Linked DNA regions of Homo sapiens: regions 2, 3, 4, 5, 6 and 7 are each linked to region 1. The links are contacts of gene promoters, found by promoter capture Hi-C in human tissues and cell types (Jung and others, 2019). All regions are on one chromosome and are shown on one strand. The core of a region is centred on a gene start or on the middle of the fragment in contact, and the rest is flanking DNA. Distances in the headings are between cores, read along the strand shown. Region 1 holds the start of HAND2 (heart and neural crest derivatives expressed 2). Region 2 has its middle 120 kb from the start of LINC02269. Region 3 overlaps LOC105377543 (a long non-coding RNA gene). Region 4 has its middle 15 kb from the start of LINC02269. Region 5 has its middle 36 kb from the start of LINC02269. Region 6 has its middle 54 kb from the start of LINC02269. Region 7 has its middle 84 kb from the start of LINC02269.

Region 1 (2,571 bases), core at 42-2,541:
CGCTGTTGATGCTCTGAGTCCTGCGCCGCTCCTTGCGGTTGGCGGTGCCTCGGCGCTTCACCGGGCGCGGCCCCCCCAGGCCCGGGGGCCCGGCGCCCGGCGGCACCCCCCCGTAATGGGAGTGGTCCAGGCCGGCGGCGCCGCTGGCATACTCGGGGCTGTAGGACAGGGCCATGCTGTAGTCGGGGGGCGACATCTCGGGGTGGCCGATGAGCCAGCCATGGAAGTAGGGGTTCTCCTCATGGCTGCAGCGGCTGGCGGCGGCGGCGGCAGCTGCGGCGGCGGCGGCGGCAAACGGGTAGCCCTCGTGGTGCACCACCGGGTGGTGGGGAAAACCACCTACCAGACTCATTTCGCCCTCCGCGCCCCTCCACGCGCCCCAGCGTGCGCGCAGCCCCGCCGCGCCCTCGGCCCGGGCCCCTGCCTCAGCGCTCGGCGTCCTCCCCCACCCCCCACCCCCCAGCCCCCGGGCGCCCGGGCCCGCCCGGCAGCCGCAGAGGGGGCTGCTGCAGCCCGGGCCCCGTCCCCCCGCCTGGCCAGCCGGGCCCGCCTCAGCAGCGCTGCGGCCGCCGGCTCCCCATGGGGCGCGGCGAGCTGGTCCTGGCACCGTGCGCCCCTGGCCGCCGCCGCCGCCGCCTCCGGTTCCCGCCTTGCTCCACGGCCCGCGCTTCGGCTCCTGCTTCCCGGGCTGCTGCGCGGAGGCAGAATCCTCTCGTGCTCATACAAAGGTGCCGGGGCTCCCGCGAGGCTGGTACGCGGAGTCTCGGGAATCCAAGCCCGGGCCGCGGTCCTGGCACCGAAGCTAACCCGGAATCCAGGGGCGAGTCTGAGCCGCGGCTGGAGGAGCCGGTCCAGCTGTGCCGGGGGGCGGCGGGGTCGACTGCTCACTGCAAAGCTACCTCCGTGCGACCCTCCCCTTCCCGCCTCTTCCCCTCCCCCCACCAGCCCGATCTGGGTTCTTGGGCGCTTATTGTTTTAATGAAATTTTTGGTTGTTGTTGTTTTGGTCCTTAAATGTGATTTTAGCTGCGAGTAACGTGTCCTCGCTCCTCTCGCGCTCTCTCGGAGGGTTTTCAGAGAGGTCTCAGTGCATCCATTTTCTCAGATCCTCTCCTTTCGGGGCAAGGATCTGGGGCCCTGAATGAGCCTTGGAGCTCGAAGACCGCGGCTCGGGCTCTCGGAGGGCTCTGCGCGGTGGCCGAGGAAGCTCCGGGGTGACGGCGGTGGTTCTCCTGGGCTGGACGACGTGAGGGGAGCAAGCGGATTTTCCCAGCAAGATCTCCATGTACAGCTACATCTTTAGGGCCGCTCGGGTTAATATATGTCGTCAGAGGCTCCTCACGCCAATCCCGGGGCGGCAGGGGCGGCGCCTCGAGCTCTCGGCAATAAAACTTTTTGATGTTCACGTTGCTAATTGCCGAGGTCCTCTTCCAGGATTGGCTACCTCCTCATAACCATAAGATAATTAAAACTTGGCGGGGGGGGGGGGCAGGGTTAAAAAAACTTTTTTTATCAGTCAGAGGATAATGCAAGTGTTTAACAGATGCTTCACTATTAAAATATTTTCCCCCCAAGTCTCAAATATTGAAGAATCTCTAACCAGGTACAGTATCACTCTGCTCTCTTTTCTGGTTGAAAAGAAAGAAAGAAAGAAAACGCAGGTATTGCTTTTCGAAGTGCTTTGTAGGTAATCGAGGTAAGAAAATATACGCAGGCAGCCTCTTACAATTTTATGCAGGGGCGCCGGGAGCCTCGTGACGGGCGGTGGGGGCCCCCACAAAGGCGCGGCTGGGAGCTGGCGCTCTTTGCCCCAGCAGGGACGAGGAGCGGCTGGAGAAGGGTGTTTCTTTGACCCGTTTACAGGCTCGAAACGCCGGTCTCAGTGGCTATTGAGTTACCCACCAAGTTACCCCGGTTAGAGCTGTTTGGGGTGGCTCACGTTATTGCGGCAAACTTTGGAGATGACGGCTGAGTCCTCCGGGCGAACATGTCAAGCCGATTGTAAATGCTGTTATTTCCACATCCTTCAGGGACACCAGTCCCTACGAAGACCTTGGGCGATTTTGAAGTGCGGGCACCTCGATTCCCCGAATCTGTAGTGTGGCTGGTATCGGTGTTCCCCTGGTTTAACTAGCCTGTTTGGTAAGTAACTGAATATTTTTTACGGCGTGTTCAGAGCTTATTTTCCAGTTTTTATGAACAAACATATAAATATATCTCTGCATTCCTGCCTCCCTCATAAAAGCGGGCATCTGTGGAAAGCAGGTTTAGTTATCGGAGGGGAACCATTAAACGCCAGTTTAAGAGGCAGGCCGGGAGGACGGCTCGTGGATGTTGAGACTGCTGGCCTTGGTGATCTTGAACGCATTATAACGGAAAATGGATCTCCACTTGTAAGTCACCGGGCCGCGGGGCACCCGGGCCGCAGCGCCCGTGTGGCATGAGCTTCTTGAGAAGGCTCACGTGCGGCGAGGGCGGGTGGTAAATGGCAGGAGCTGAAATCACCCCAGGCTTGGCCCCAAGCCGAGAGGGGAGGCTGATGTGTATATGCAGATTCCACCCGAAGGAGTTC
Region 2 (2,571 bases), core at 30-2,529, 490 kb after region 1:
GGTCAACCTGAAAGAAACTAATATAACCCCAAAGTTAAAAGGAAGATACTATTGTAGTAAAAACTTGAAGCCTCTTAACATATCTGTTAAAAGAAAACAATAAGCATTAAGTTTAATAAGCTTAATAGACTTAACCGAAACTAGCACAAAGGCAGTTCAGTGTTAAGAGTAGGAACTGCCAAATCACTGCCATTTGCCCACTTTTCTTCTGGCTTCAAATATGAAATCAATTATGTTAATTTTTTGAATACGTTGGAACATTCCAAAATTTTATTATAATTATATAGAATATTAGATAAAACATTTCCTGTATTTCCTCCAAAATGCTAGAAAAGGAGTTGTATGGTAGATAATTCTTAACTGACTTTGCTCTTATCCATTCCTACTTAGAGATTTTTCCCGTATTTGTGATAAATGTGCAGGATTTTTGTATGTGAAGTTTCAGTAGAAAACATTTGTCTTATATGTTCTTAGTTTATACATCTTTGGGAAAGCCAGTCAAAAGAAACATGAGAGCTATTTTTAGGTGCTTTCCCTACATTTTTATTGCCTTTTAATGAAAGAGATCTTTGGGTTTTTGGGGAGGAGATGATAAATAGTAGGGAGTGTGAAGTTTAAAAGAACATATATCTTGGCTATAAATTCCATAATGTGAATACAACCTCTTTTGTTTAGATCTCTTAATTTTTTCTCCCAGCAATGTACAGTCTGTTTGGGAATCATTCACATACTTAAGCTGTATTTACATATAAGAATCATGCTTTGGTGAAGTAGGTGATAAAGGCATGGGAATCTTCCAGAATGTAAAGAGAAAAAAAAATCAAATAATTAGGAGTAAAAAAAAACACTCCAAACTTAAAAAACATTCACTCATATTTAGATTGAGAGAAAACTCAAAATGCTGAGCACATTCATCCTGATGAAATTTCGTAATTAAAAAAAGGAAAAAATTAGACAAGCCTCCAAAAAGAGAGAATGGAAAGGGAAAAGAGAGAGGGAGAGATGGAGAATGAGAAAAAGAATTGCCTACTAAGAAATAAGAATCAAGAATCAGACTGCATTAGACTTTTACCAACCAGATTTTAGAAGAGAATAGAGGAATTTATTCATAAATGTATTCAGAGTTCCAGAAAGACATTCTGAATCTAGAATTTTAAAATTATGTATACTTTGTATATACATATACACATGTATGTTATTTTTGAAGAGGTGTGCTCACATGGCTCAAAAATCAGAACAACATAAATACATACAGAGAGAAGACCTCTACATCTGTCCCCATCCACTCCCTTGTATATAAGCAGATTTACTAGTTTTTTTGTGTATTCTTTTAATACTTTATAAATATATAAGCAAATGTATATATATAATCTTCTCCTTTCTTATACAAAAGATAGCTTACTATAAATATTGTACTATTGCTTTCTTTAATTACTTAATAAAAAATGTTAGAGACCTGACTATTTTAGTACCAAAAGATCCTTTTTTTTTTTTATTGCTGCCTAAGCCTGTGTAGTGTGGATACACCAGAATCTCTGGGACCAGTGCCTATTGTTGGATACTTAAGCAGTTTCCAACTTCTTAGTGCTGTAAACAATCGTGCAATTAATAATATTTAATATACGTTACTTCTTAAATACCCATGTGCATCTGTAGGATGATGTTCCAGTGGTGGAATTACTAAGAAAAGTTAAATGCATTTAGGTAAATAGTATCAAATTTCCTTCCTTTGGAGTTGTTCCATTTTGGAATCCTAAAAACAATGCATGAGGATACTAGTTTCCCCACAGTTTTGCCAGAAGAATATGTCAACCTCTGGGTTTTTGCTAATAAAATATGTAAAATATCATACCTCTGTTTAAGTAACATTTGCATTTCTCACATTACTGTTAAGGTGTTGCTTCTTTTGCTATGTTTGTGGGTTGTTTATGTAGTTATCTGTGGATGATCTTAACTGTTTTGGGGGAGGTTGTTAGTTTATCTCAATTACTAAAAGTTATTTATATATTTGGGAATTAGCCTTTGTTGGTGACATGAATTACAATCAACCCTCTACCACCACCACCGATTTTGTGTTTATCTTTTGAGTTTGCTTGTAGTATTTTTTCCATGCAGAATTTCTTGATTTTTATGTAGTTAAAATTATCCTTTTCATCTTTAGTGACTTCTAGATTTTGTATTTTATTAAGAAAGGTCTTCCTCATTCCAAGGACATAAAAGAATTCAATGATATTTTCTTGTACTTACATGGTCTTATTTTTTAAATTCAACCTTTAATCAATTTGGGATTTATTCTGGTGTAAGATGTGCAATGCTAACTTACTCCAGATGCTAGCTAATTGTTCTAACACCAGTAATAAATTTATTTTTTTTTAATGAACATGAGACAGAAACCCTGGACTAGTTTTTTTATAACTTCAGATTGGGAAAGACTTTTCTAACTGTCATACAAAATCCGGTAGTCATGAAAAAATTAACACTGATCATTTTAACCATATAAAAATTAAAAGCTTCATTTTTCTCACTTACTTGTGATGACATCCTTATTGTATGCTAGATTCCTGTATATAT
Region 3 (2,571 bases), core at 43-2,542, 440 kb after region 1:
TTTTGCGTCTATGTTCATCTGACATATTGGCCTTTAATTTTTTTTTTCTTGTAGTGCTCTTATTTGGCTTTTGTATCAGAATAATGTTGGCCTCATAAAATGAGTTTGAATATGGTCCTTTCTCTTCAATTTTTAAAAAGTTTTAGGTGGTGTTAATTTTTTAAATGTTTGGTAGAATTTCCCAGTGAAACCATTTTGTCCTGGGTTTTTCATTTTTGGGAGGTATTTGATTACTGATTCAGTCTCTTTGTTATAGGGCTGTTCAGATTTTCCATCTTTTCATGATTCAGTCTTGGTAAGTTGTATGTTTCCAGAAGTTTATCGATTTTTTGGTTAAACAATTTTTTGGCATAAAAATTCTCATAGTAGTCTCTTATAATCCCTTGTATTTCTGTGTTATCATTGTAATGTCTCCTTTTATTTATAAATTTACAGTTGGGCACATTGGCTCACACCTGTAATCCCAGCACTTTGGGAGGCTGAGGTGGGCAGGTCACTTGAGGTCAGGAGTTCTAGACCACCCTGGTCAACATGGTGAAACCCCGTCTCTACTGAAAAAATGCAAAAAATTAGCCAGACGTGGTGGCACATGTCTTTAGTCCCAGCTACTTTGGAAGCTGAGGCAGGGGAATTGCCCGAACCCAGGAGGTGGAGGTTGCAGTAAGCCAAGATCACACCACTGCATTCCAGCCTGGGTGACAGAATGAGATTCCATCTCAAAAAATAATAATAAAATAAATAAATAAATAATTTTATTTCTTTCTTTTTTGAGTCATATCTCTTTTATTCTTGGTTAGTCTAGCTAAAATTTTGTCAATTTTTAAAATCTGGTCGATCAATTTTCATTCATATTTTCTATCTTTTTAAATTTCAATTTCATTTACTTCTGCTCTAATCTTTATTATTTACTTCTTTCTGTTAACTTTGGGCTTAGTATGATCTTCTTCTTCTGGTTCCTTGAGGTGTAAAGTATAATTGTTTATTTAAGATATTTCTTTTTCTTACTGTAAACATTTATCACTATAGACTTCCCTCTTGGACTGCTTATGCTGTTTCTTATACTTTTTGGCATGTTGTATTTCCATTTTTGTCTTAACATATTTTTTGATTTACCTTTTTCTGCCTTCCTTGACACATTAGTTGTTCAAGAGGTTGTTGTTTAATTTCCACATATTTCTCCATATTTCAATTGTCTTCCTATTCTTGATTTCTAGTGGCATACCACTGTGATTATAAAAGATACTTGATACGATTTCAATCTTCTTAAATTTGTTGAGACTTGTTTTGTGACTTAACTTATTTATCCTAATGTTCCATGTTCACTTGAGATGTTTGTTCAGCTGCTGTTGGATATTTACATATGTTTTGTATATGTCTGTTAGGTCCATCTGGTCTAAAGTGTAGTTCAAGCTCAATGTTTCATTTTTCTTTTTTTGGTTTTCTGTCTGAGTAATCTATCCATTGTTCAAAGTGGTGTGTTGAAGTTTCCTATTATACTTGCATTGCTTTCTATTTCTCTCTTCATTTCTATTATTATTTGTTTTATATATTTAGGTGCTCCATGGTGGGTACATACTGATTTACAATTGTTTTATCTTCTTGATGGATTGACCTCTTTATAATTATATAATAAGCTTTTTTGTGTCTTGTGACAGTTTTTGACTTACAGTCTATTTGGGCTGTCATAAGCATAGCTAGCTCTGCTCTGTTTGGGTTTCCATTTACATGGAATATCTTTTTCCATTCCTTCATTTTTAACCTGTCAGTATTCTTAAAGCTAAAATGATTGTAAGCAGCATATAGTTGAGTCTCATTTATTTAATCCACTCGGCCGCTCTTGTATTTTGATTAATTTATTCCATATACATTTTAAGTAATTATTCATAGGTAAGAACTTATTTCTGCAATTTTGTTAATTATTTTCTAATTATTTTGTAGTTCCTTTGTCCCTTTCTTCATCTCTTGCTGTCTTCTTTCGTGAATTGATTATTTTTTTGTAGTGGTATACTTTGATTCCTTTCTCTGTATCTTTTGTGCATCTGCTATATAATTTTTTTCCCTGAGTTTATTGAGTTGTCTGTGTTCTCTTTTATCTTGCTGAGCTTGGTTATAATAATTGTTTTGAGTTATTTTCAGTTAATAACAAAGGAATAACATTTCATATATCCCCATTTCTTTGGAGTCAGTTACTGAAAAATTATTGTGTTCCTTTGATAATGTCATGTTTTCATTTTTTTCTATGCTTCTAGTGGCTTTGCATTGATATCTTCACATTTGAAGCAGCAGTCACCTCTTCCTTTTGGGTTGGCTTCAGTGGAAAAAGACTGTCATCTTTGGATGGCCACAAGGGTGCCAACTAAATGAGGTGCACCACTTCCATTTCTGGGTTGGGGACAGCAGTGCAGCCGCCTCGCAATTCCATCAATGTCAATGTGAGCAAAGGCTGTGAAGGTCCTTGGCAACCAAGGTTGCAGATGTCGGTGGTGGTTGCAGCTGCAAGAGTTGTTGGGGTCCTTGGCAAAGTCTGCTGGGATTTTTCTGTTCTCCTCTCCCTTATGGGAAATAATTCTA
Region 4 (2,571 bases), core at 42-2,541, 350 kb after region 1:
CCTTTCAGTGAGAAAAAAAATATGTGTGAGCTTTAACTACAATGATTCTCTGGCTAATGAGATGCCATTGATCATGTGGAGAGGAAAGTAATATCCTTTGACATATAAAACTGTATACAGTGGTTATGGAATCTAAATCTATTCCTTTGCTAGAGTGAAACATTACTAATGAAAACAAAAAAATGCATTAACCTGTAAAAAGAAACTAAATTTATTGACAAGAGTTTGCAAATCACAGTTAATTGAGTCTCAGATGAAACTTCAAATAAAGGAAATAATGTGGTAATTGGGCCCCTCATCTTATATAATATACTTGTTGGCATACATTATGGGTTTGCTATCTTTTAAGAGTATTAAATCATTGTACAAAAACATTGCCAAAAAGACTCTTCATTTCCTTTTAGTGACTTCTTACTGCCCTCAGTGGAAGTTTAATAGAAAAGGAAGGACATGATGTAGTTTTAATGACAGGAAACCCATGGCCTTCCAAATGAATAAATTCCATCACTAGCTGCCACAAAGTGTGCTAATTATTTCCTTTGATAAATTAAAAGCTGTAAAAGTCCGAAGTATATAAGCATGTGGTTTACAGTTATAATCAACCTGTCTGCATTATTGAAAGTTCATATTATCTTCACTATTTAATAAAGCATTAATTTTTTATTCCAACAAATTGTATAGAAAGCATGTACATAAAGCATTAAACTTTTGCTGATTTGACAGATGATTAAATAACTAAACTTTGTGTTTCTGACCTTTAAGATGCTAAAATCAAGTATTGATTTATTCCCCTAACACTAAACCTTGAAGATGAAGATGAAGATCATTATGAAATGATGAAACAAACCAAATCAAAAGCCAATCATGTCCAAAGTGTGTAGAGGAATTAGAATATTATACTTGATTTTTATTATTTTATTTTTAATATCAGCTAAATCACTTGGGAGTGAAATACAGCAATTCAATCATTCAACAAAATTTATGTGCCCCATGTGCTCTGTGTGAATTAATTTGTTAATTCCACAATCATTTATTTAACCTTTGCCATGTGTTCTGGGGGTACAATAGCAGTAAAAAATGGACTCCATCCTTGTCTTCATAGAGCTTGCAATATAGTGAGAGAGCCGTACATCTAGTGATTGTACAATCATCAACCTGGAAATGTGACAGGGAGGTTTATGGCTTGATGAAAGCTTACTAACCATAGGAGCACTGTCCTACTCAGTCATAGACGTTCGGCTTCCCTGATAAAAGGCGGCTCAAATTGAAATATGAACGATGAGCTAAAGAGAACAAGGAGAATTCCAGGCAGGGGTACAGGCATATGTGAAAGGCTTTGTGGTGAGCCTGAGAGAAGGTCCATGTGGCATCAGTACAGGAGGTGAAGTGAGTCAGAGCCCAGCTTGCCTACTCAGTGTCTCTGTGCACCTTTTTGTCAAAGTGGGTGCAGACTGCACCAGGGCACATGGATTGTTGAACAGCATGTGGGCTGTATTTCGGCCCCATCACCTCCTTGGCTGAGTGCTCAAATGCATGACCTTCGCATTGTACATAGCAGCCGTGGGGAAAGTGGAGCAAGCTAATGTAACAGTAAAGAGGTTGGTAGAGCTCAAGTAATGTGAGACCTCGCAATTTGGTAGCAAATAAAAAAGAGTGGCTTCTACTAAGTTTAATCCTGTCAAAATAATCCATCTTTAATTTTGTACAATTTCTAATATTTCTCCAGTTTCAACTCTAAGCTTTTCAACTAAGGAGAATAAAACATCTCACTGTAGTCATCCTATTTTGTGCTTTGTCTTGTTTTTGCATTCAAGAATGATACCTGTTGTGTTCTCAGCCATTTGTTCTAACTCCATTTAGACTGGTGAAATGAAAAAAAACATTTAATGTGACTTATTGGATATACGCAGTTAAATCATGGCTTCATACCTTACATGAAGGGACTATGGTTCTGCTAGAATTTAAATTATTTGGTAACGTTTTACAAAAGAACTGATGATGGTTTCATTCTTTCATTCCTTCCATTTTTAGAAATTCTTAAAAATCCATCCAGCATCCACTTTACCAGGTACTCTGAGAGGGGCTTAGGAGACCCAAGAAATGCATCCAAGTCCCTGTCCTCAAGGTACTCACTCACTATGTGAGATGGTCACACTAACAGGTGATTAAGAGACAGCGACCCATGGGCAGTAGAACCCCGACAGAGTATCTTAATTCAGGGGGCCAGAGAAAACGTTCCAGGCAGAGACTGTAAGGATCCCTAAGAGCAAGCCGAGCAAAGAATAGAAGAAGAGGCTTTCAGGCTGAGGGGACTACAGGAACAAAAGTAGGGGATGGGAAAAACATGTTGCTGGAGTGTAAGTGTAAGAAAAAGAGAAGCAAGAGCTGGGAGCAGAGTGTTGGGAAGGGCCAGATCAAGGGGCTTGAACATCAAGAATCTTGGATTTAATTTTGTTGGTGAAAGGGAGCTATTGAAGACTCTTGCTTCTTTTGGAATCCACCTAGAAAGGCCTTATCTGGGGTCTAGGCCTCAAATTAGAGGTTTTTTTTTTTTTCTTTTTACACCTGTGC
Region 5 (2,571 bases), core at 39-2,538, 330 kb after region 1:
TTCAAAATTCATTTATCTTCTTGACCCTTGCCTTTTCATCTTGACACTCTTCGACTCTGGACAGCCTCTGTTTTCTTTCCTCTCTACTTTTGCTTCTGGGCTTCAAAGCAAACCACAGTGATCTTTTCCACTTTTGTGTACATACTCAAGGTCCTAGACTCACCTCCACCCTCACATTTACCCACTGACTTCACTTTCTATTTTAATGAGAATGAGATCACTTCATGGGAATTCTCTCTACTTCATTGCTCATTGCTTCTGTCTTCTTAATTATCCTGTCTTCTTTTGTTCATTCTCTTTTTTTCGCTTCCTTGTAACAAAGTAGAAATTCAGTAAGCATTTGTTGAATGAATAAATTATTGCTTCTTGATCCCAGTCCCTCAAATGGTAGCACTTTGCCCTGCTTCTTCCTGCCCTGCATGAAAACATAATTAATTTTATCTGTCTTAACAGTTTTCTTTTTATAAAAGACAATTTTTTTGATTATGCTTATTGTAGAAGGGAAAATACAAATTTTTTAATAAAATAAAAACTACTCCATAGAGAGAAAAACATTGATAACATTTGGTGTATTTACCTTTTAAAATGTTTTCATGTATTTTTTCAAATTAAATCACTCCTTTGTTTATTTAAAAACATTTCTTTAAGACTCTAATTTCTCTTACTTGTTGCAGTGCTTCTTCACTGAGTCATTTAAAGCAAGTCACTTAATTTTTTAAAGCTTAAATTCATGCATCTGTGAAACTTGTAAGACCCATTGTGTTAATCCATTTTCATGCTGCTGGTAAAGTCATACCCAAGACTGCGCGATTTACAAAGGAAAGAGATGTTTAATGGACTACAGTTCTATGTGGCTGGGGAAGCCTCACAATCATGGCAGAAGGCAAGGAGGAGCAAGTCATGTCTTAAGTGGATGGCAGCAGGCAAAGAGAGAGAGCTCGTGCATGGGAACTCCTCTTTTAAAAACCATCAGATGTTGTGAGACTTATTCACTATCATGAGAATAGCGAGGGGAAGACCCGCCCCCATAATTCAATCACCTCCCACTGTGTTCCTCCCATGACACGTGGGAATTGTGGGAGTTACAATTCAAGATGAGATTTAGGTGGGGACACAGACAAACCATGTCACCCACTTATATAATTATAGTGTGGAGATCAAAGGTAAGAATTTAGTACACAGCCTGGCACATAGTAAATGATGAACAAACATTAACCTTTGTGATTTAGTTTCTCTTTTCACTTTTAAACTTCTTTAAAAGTTTGTCTTCTTTCATTACCTCATCGTTATCAACTATTCATTCCTTTTTCTTGAATAACCAAAAAAAAGGAAGAAAATACAAATTGTCAATATTACGAATGAAAGGAATATAGCCACAGATCCTATAAGCGTAAAAAATAATAAAATATCATAAACAACCTCATGACAACAAATTTGAGAGTGTAAATTAAATAGACAAATTCCTTTAAAATTTCAACTAACCGAAACTTACTGAAGAAGAAATAGAAAATGTGAGTAGTTCTGCATTTATTGGGGACATTTAATTTATAATAAAAAAACTTTTCACAAAAAAAACTTTGTATCCAGATTGTTTCAACACTGAATTCTATACAAAATTTAAGGATAAATTAATACCAATTGTATACAAACTCTTTCAGAAGACAGAATAGTAAGTCACTTCCAACTCATGCTATAAAATCAAAACAACCCTAGTGACATACCTCACAAATACTTTTTTTTTTTTGAGACAAAGTTTCGCTCTGTCACTGAGGCTGGAGTGCAGTGGCACCATCTCAGCTCACTGCATCCTCCGCCTCCCGGGTTCAAATGATTCTCCTGCCCCAGCCTCCCGAGTAGCTGGGATTACAGGTGCATGCCACCATGCCAGGCTATTTTATTTTGTTTGTATTCTTAGTAGAGATGGGGTTTCACCATGTTGGTCAGGCTGGTCTTGAACTCCTGACCTCATGATCCGCCCGCCTTGGCCTCCCAAAGTGCTGGGATTACAGGCATGAGCCACCACACCCGGCCACAAATACATTTTTTAAAAAGGACATTACAGACCAATATAGCCCATAAATATAGACCAAAAATACTCCCAAATATTATCAATTTAACCTAGCCAATGAAGTTTATCCTAGGAATGCAAGGTTGAGTCAATATTTGAAAATATATCTGTGTAATTGGCCACATTGATAGAGTACAAAGCAAAAGCAAAAGATCACCTTAAAAATGCAGAAAATTCATTTGAGAAAACTCAATAACCATTCATAATAAACATTCTAGAAAAGCTAGGAAAAGAAGACAACTTCTGCAATCTGATTTTTTAAAAAAAGCATCTATGAAAATCTATAGCTAACATCTTTCTCAATGGTAGAGGATTGAATACTTTCTCCCTAACATTAGGAATGAGCTTAGTATATCCATTCACAGAACTGCTATTTAATATTATATTGGAGGATCAGGAGTTCAGAGAAGATTGGTGTTACTAGGTGTTATTAGTGATACTTGAGGATGGCTAAGGTATTTTGAAACTATGAAGTATGCATAGGCAGAAGGAATACAGGAACA
Region 6 (2,571 bases), core at 50-2,549, 310 kb after region 1:
TACACTGAATGTTGCTGTTTTAGATCACAGAGTTTTGGAGTGGTTTGTTATGTAACAACAGTAACTGGGTGATATGGTTTTTCTGTGTCCCCACCCAAATCTTGTCTTGAATTCCCACATGTTGTGAGAGGGGCCCTTTGGGAGGTAATTGAATCATGGTGGCAGGTCTTTCCTGTACTGTTCTAGTGATAGTGAATAAGTGTTAGAGAGCTGATGGTTTTAAAATAGGAATTTTCTTGCACAAGCTCTCTCTTTTTGCCTGCTGCCATCTATCTAAAATGTGACTTGCTCCTCCTTGCCTTCTGCCATGATTGTGAGGCTTCCCCAGCCATGTGGAACTGTAAGTTCATTAAATCGCTTTCTTTTATAAATTGCTCAGTCTTGGGTATGTCTTTATCAGCAGCATGAGAACAGACTAATACAGTAAATTGGTACAGGGAGTGGGGCGCTACTAGAAAGATACCTGAAAATGTGGAAGCAACTTTGGAACTGGGTAACAGGCAAAGGTTGGAACAGTTTGGAAGGCTCATAAGAAGGCAGGAAAGTGTGGGAAAGTTTGGAACTTCCTAGAGACTTATTGACTGGCTTTGCCCAAAATGTTGATAGTGGTATGAACAATAAAGTCCAGACTGAGGTGGTCTCAGATGGAAATGAGGAATTCATTGGGAACTGGAGGAAACATGACTCTTGTTATGTTTTAGCAAAGAGACTGGTGGCATTTTGCCCCTGCTCTAGAAATTTGTGGAACTTTGAACTTGAGAGATGATTTAAGATACCTGGCAGAAGAAATTTCTAAGCAGCAAAACATTCAAAAGCTGACTTGGGTGTTGTTAAAAGCATTCAGTTTTAAAAGAGAAACAGAGCATAAAAGTTCAGAAAATTTGCAGCCTGACAATGCAATAGAAAAGAAAAGCCCATTTTCTGAGGAGAAATTCAAGCCGGTTGCAGAAATTTGTTTAAGTAACAAGGAGCCAAATGCTAATTGCCAGGACAATGGGGGAAATGTCTCCAGGGCATTTCAGAGATCTTTGTGGCAGCCCCTCCCACCACAGGACTGGAGGCCTATGAGGAAAAAAATGGTTTCATGGGTCAGACCTAGGGCCCCTTGCTCTGTGCAGCCTAAGGACTTGGTACCCTGTGTCCTAACCCCTCAAGCCATGGCTAAAAGGGGCCAAGGTACAGCTTGGGCTGTGGCTTCAGAGGTTGAAAGCCCCAAGCCTTGGCAGCTTCCACGTGGCGTAGAGCCTGCAGGTGTACAGAAGTCAAGAACTGAGGTTAGGGAACCTCTGTCTAGATTTCAGAGGATGTTTGGAAATGCCTGGTTGTCTAGGCAGAATTTTGCTGCAAGGATGGGGACACTCATGGAGTACCTCTACTAGGGCAGTACAGAAGGGAAATGTGGGGTTGGAGCTCCCACACAGAGTCCCCACTGGGGCACCACATAGTGGAGCTGTGAGAAAAGGCTCAGTGTCCTCCAGACCCCAGGATGGTAAGTCCACTGACAGCTTGCACAATGCACCTGGAAAAGCCGCAGACACTCAATGCCAGCCTGTGAAAGCAGCTGGGAGGGAGGCTGTACCCTGCAAAGCCACAGGGGTGGAGCTGCCCAAAACCATGGAAATCCAGGTCTTGCATTAGCGTGACCTGGGTGTGAGACATGGAGTCAAAGGAGATCATTTTGGAGCTTTAAGATTTGACTGCCCCCACTGGATTTTGGACTTGCCTGGAGCATGGATCCCCTTTGTTTTGGCCAATTTCTCCCATTTGGAATGTTGTATTTACCCAATGTCTGTGCCTCCATTGTATCTAGGAAGTAACTAACTTGCTTTTGATTTTACAGGCTCATGGGCAGAAGGGACTTGTCTCAGATAAGACTTTGGACTCTTGACTTTGAGTTAATGTTGAAATGAGTTAAGGCTTTAGGGGACTATTGGGCAGGCATGATTGGTTTTGAAATGTGAGGACATGAAATTTGGGAGGGGCCAAGGGTGGAATGATATGGTTTGGCTGTGGGGACACAAATCTCATTTTGAATTCCCACATATTGTGGGAGGGACCTGGTGGGAAGTAATTGAATCATGGGGGCAGGTCTTTCTTGTGAAGTTCTCATGACAGTGAATAAGTCTCATGAGATCTGATAGTTTTAAAAACAGCAGTTTCCCTACACAAGCTCTCTCTTTTTGTCTGCTGCCATCCGCATAAGACATGGCCAGCTATTCCTTGCCTTCTGCCATAATTGTGAGGCCTCTCCAGCCATATGGAACTGTAAGTTCATTAAACCTCTTTCTTTCGTAAATTGCCCAGTCTCAGGTATGTCTTTATCAGCAGCATGAGAACAGACTAATACACTGGGACAGAATTGGACACCTGGATGTGAGGTGCTGCTGTAACAAAAATCTAAAGCATGTTGCATTGGTTTTGGTACTGGGTGGAAGACAGGAGCTTGATCTCGAAGAGCATTTTAGTAAAAATTGGAAGGGTCTCCAGAAAAGTGTTAGAATCCTAACGGCCTTAGGAGCTGTCAGTAAAGGCATAGAAGAAAGTGAAGGAAATATTATTGGAAGCTGGGGG
Region 7 (2,571 bases), core at 53-2,552, 280 kb after region 1:
ATTGGCAATAAAAACCAATGCTTATTATTATTAATATATTTATTACTTTTATTTTCTCTAATATTTTCTAATGATATAAACAAATGCCATTGTTGATAATTACAGAGAAGGTTATAATAAAATACATGGCAACAACAATGATGATGTGTCTTATCATCTCATACTTGGTTAGATGAAACATTATTGGATTTAAGAATAAATGTTTTAACAAAATTTGTTATCTATGTAATAGGCAATTAATAAAAAAAAATTGTGTATCTCAAAGTCTATTCATTTACCCCTCTTAAGAACAGAACTACTATTAAGACTTGTTGATCGTGAACTGCATTTTTATATCATGTCCTCATAAAGACTCTGTGCCATGGCTGAGAGAAGAAGGTTTTAGAAAGCTACCCTTGCTGGTCTGCCTTTAGGTAAATTTAAAATTTCTGTCTTCCCTGGGTTGCTTTCTTTTTTTCATTTATTCTACATTTTTTTTTCCAGAAAATACATTTATAGTAGAAAACCCAATGAAATTAGTGAAGACTGGAATACAATTTATTCAGTCGTAATTACCAAATAATGAGCTGCAATCCAGGGCAAATTTCAAAAGTCTTTTTAAGGGAAACACTAAAATTATTAACAAATGCAAAGTAAAACATTAAGTATATTACTTCTTAATGAATGTGTGAGACGTGTCTTCAAAATAATCCTAAAGGAAACAAGAGAGTGTAAGAATATGAAGGTAGCCTGAAAAGACTTATTTTTCTCTACTAAGTGATCTGCTTCCTAGGAACACTTTGGTTATTTTCCCACACACACTCCTGGTCACGAAGAAAAGAGTACAAGAAAAGAGACCATTTGGATTTTGTGATTAGATAGAGACTTTTCCTGAAGGGTTGCTTCTGAAAAAAAGTTGCAATCATTAAGATAACTTAGGGGTAGCCTTAATTGTATGCTTCCTTCTATCAGCTCTCATCTCTAGAGATCTGCTTACTTTGTAGTGGAACCTAAATGAACTTTCAGATACACTGAAACTTGAAACTTTCACTCACATTCATATTATTTTCAACAGGAAAACATAGGAAACTAGAACTTTTCTTGCTCCCAACTCATTACATTTAAAGTGCACCTTGGTCTTCAGGGCAAAGTGAGTGTTAAATTCATATTTTCACATATATGCTTTCTATAAGTATGTTTGAAGATATATCTTTGATATATTGCTGTTGCTTTTATGTAAACATAAGATCCAATTACCTCATATATCAAACTTGTTATGTTTATTGATATTGCACTCTTGTTCTAATATTTTTTACTACTCTGAATATTTATCCCATAAGTCTATTAATATTTTATCATGTCAGATGGACAATGATTAAAAATAAAACCAGCATCTATCTGTTAACCCAAGCTCCTTTCTTCACTTTCTTTCAATCTAGCATCAAACTTAAAAGCATGTATTGCACTGCTCACTTTTAAGTTTATAAAGTTAATTTGACTATTTAAAATAGTTGAACATAATGAAAAAATGAAAACTCTAAGAATAAAGACCCACCCAAAACTCTCACAAGAGCAGACCAATTACACATACATATAAAAACTTAATTGCATTATGCCCCCAAAATATTAAGCAAGTAAAGTAGAAGCATTTAGATAAAACCTTCCAACTACTTTATGTACAGCAACTCGTATGACTTCTTTTTTACTTAGAATTCAATCTATTGAGTTCCACAATAGGAATCATAGACTCATGACATTGCATTAGAACTAAGCTTAACTTGAGTATTTTCACTCTGAAAAATATATCCAAGACAAATGGCTTTGTTTGTACACCAAAACACATGGGAATTTTACTTAAAAGAGAAAAATTGAAAAAAAAAACCAGTGCCTTCAACAGTAAAATGGATAATTGCAATATACTCATTAAACAATATGAAATACCTATAAAAATAATAAACTGTTGTTATAAGCAGCAACTTATATAAATCTCACCAGACATAGTGATGAACAAAGCAACCAGAAACAAAAGAGTGCATATTAAAGAAGAAATCACAAGAGGAATTAGCAAATTAAAAACAATTCATTTGAGATAAATGAAAACAAAAAACACAATACAGTTGATCCTTAAACAATACGCGTTTAAACTGCATGGGTCCACTTAGACACAGAGTTTCCTGTGCTGCCGTCACCCCTGAGACAGCAAGACCAACCCCTTCTCTTCCTCCTTCTCTTCAACCTACTCAATGTGCAAGCGACAAGGATGAAGACCTTTATGATGATCCACTGACACTTAATGAATAGTGAATATATTTTCTCTTTCTTACAATTTAATAATATTTTCTTTTCTCTAGCTTACTTTATTGTAAGAATACAGTACATAATACACATAACATAAAATATGTGTTAATGAATGGTTTATGTTATCGGTAAGGCTTCTGGTCAACAGTAGGCCATTAGTAGTTAAGTTTTCAGGTAGTCAAACTTACACATGAATTTTTACTGCGCAGGGGGTTGGCACCCCTAACACTTGTGTTGTTTCAGGGCTCACTGTATACTAAACTTTATAGAATGCAACTGAATCAGTGCTTACAG

The links. Contacts are between HindIII fragments. The study calls those that stand out against the background at their distance.
Region 2: a fragment that was not itself captured here is called in contact with the fragment with the promoter of HAND2 in region 1 in 3 of the 25 tissues and cell types used here (heart right ventricle, lymphoblastoid cells and stomach).
Region 3: a fragment that was not itself captured here is called in contact with the fragment with the promoter of HAND2 in region 1 in 3 of the 25 tissues and cell types used here (H1 embryonic stem cells, aorta and mesenchymal stem cells).
Region 4: a fragment that was not itself captured here is called in contact with the fragment with the promoter of HAND2 in region 1 in 1 of the 25 tissues and cell types used here (heart left ventricle).
Region 5: a fragment that was not itself captured here is called in contact with the fragment with the promoter of HAND2 in region 1 in 2 of the 25 tissues and cell types used here (H1 embryonic stem cells and mesenchymal stem cells).
Region 6: a contact is called between a fragment that was not itself captured here and the fragment with the promoter of HAND2 in region 1, in 2 of the 25 tissues and cell types used here (H1 embryonic stem cells and spleen).
Region 7: a fragment that was not itself captured here is called in contact with the fragment with the promoter of HAND2 in region 1 in 1 of the 25 tissues and cell types used here (dorsolateral prefrontal cortex).

What each region holds. Positions count from the first base shown.
Region 1 is chr4:173,528,938-173,531,508 of GRCh38, forward strand. It overlaps HAND2 (heart and neural crest derivatives expressed 2), which reads right to left and starts at 1,292. Exons shown (of 2, transcript NM_021973.3): 1 at 1-1,292. The coding sequence starts at 352. It overlaps HAND2-AS1 (HAND2 antisense RNA 1), which reads left to right and starts at 1,434. Exons shown (of 5, transcript NR_136196.1): 1 at 1,434-1,602; 2 at 2,030-2,141. The HindIII fragment of the contact is 12,639 bases long and covers 1-2,571 here.
Region 2 is chr4:174,020,150-174,022,720 of GRCh38, forward strand. No RefSeq gene overlaps it. Among named protein-coding and RNA genes, the nearest start is that of LINC02269, 120 kb to the left of the region's middle. The HindIII fragment of the contact is 3,426 bases long and covers 1-2,571 here.
Region 3 is chr4:173,970,085-173,972,655 of GRCh38, forward strand. All of the region lies in intron 1 of LOC105377543 (a long non-coding RNA gene), which reads right to left. The region is part of intron 2 of LOC105377544 (a long non-coding RNA gene); the gene reads left to right. Among named protein-coding and RNA genes, the nearest start is that of LINC02269, 74 kb to the left of the region's middle. The HindIII fragment of the contact is 6,623 bases long and covers 1-2,571 here.
Region 4 is chr4:173,880,653-173,883,223 of GRCh38, forward strand. No RefSeq gene overlaps it. Among named protein-coding and RNA genes, the nearest start is that of LINC02269, 15 kb to the right of the region's middle. The HindIII fragment of the contact is 3,094 bases long and covers 1-2,571 here.
Region 5 is chr4:173,860,113-173,862,683 of GRCh38, forward strand. No RefSeq gene overlaps it. Among named protein-coding and RNA genes, the nearest start is that of LINC02269, 36 kb to the right of the region's middle. The HindIII fragment of the contact is 3,563 bases long and covers 1-2,571 here.
Region 6 is chr4:173,842,445-173,845,015 of GRCh38, forward strand. No RefSeq gene overlaps it. Among named protein-coding and RNA genes, the nearest start is that of LINC02269, 54 kb to the right of the region's middle. The HindIII fragment of the contact is 4,048 bases long and covers 1-2,571 here.
Region 7 is chr4:173,812,397-173,814,967 of GRCh38, forward strand. No RefSeq gene overlaps it. Among named protein-coding and RNA genes, the nearest start is that of LINC02269, 84 kb to the right of the region's middle. The HindIII fragment of the contact is 4,331 bases long and covers 1-2,571 here.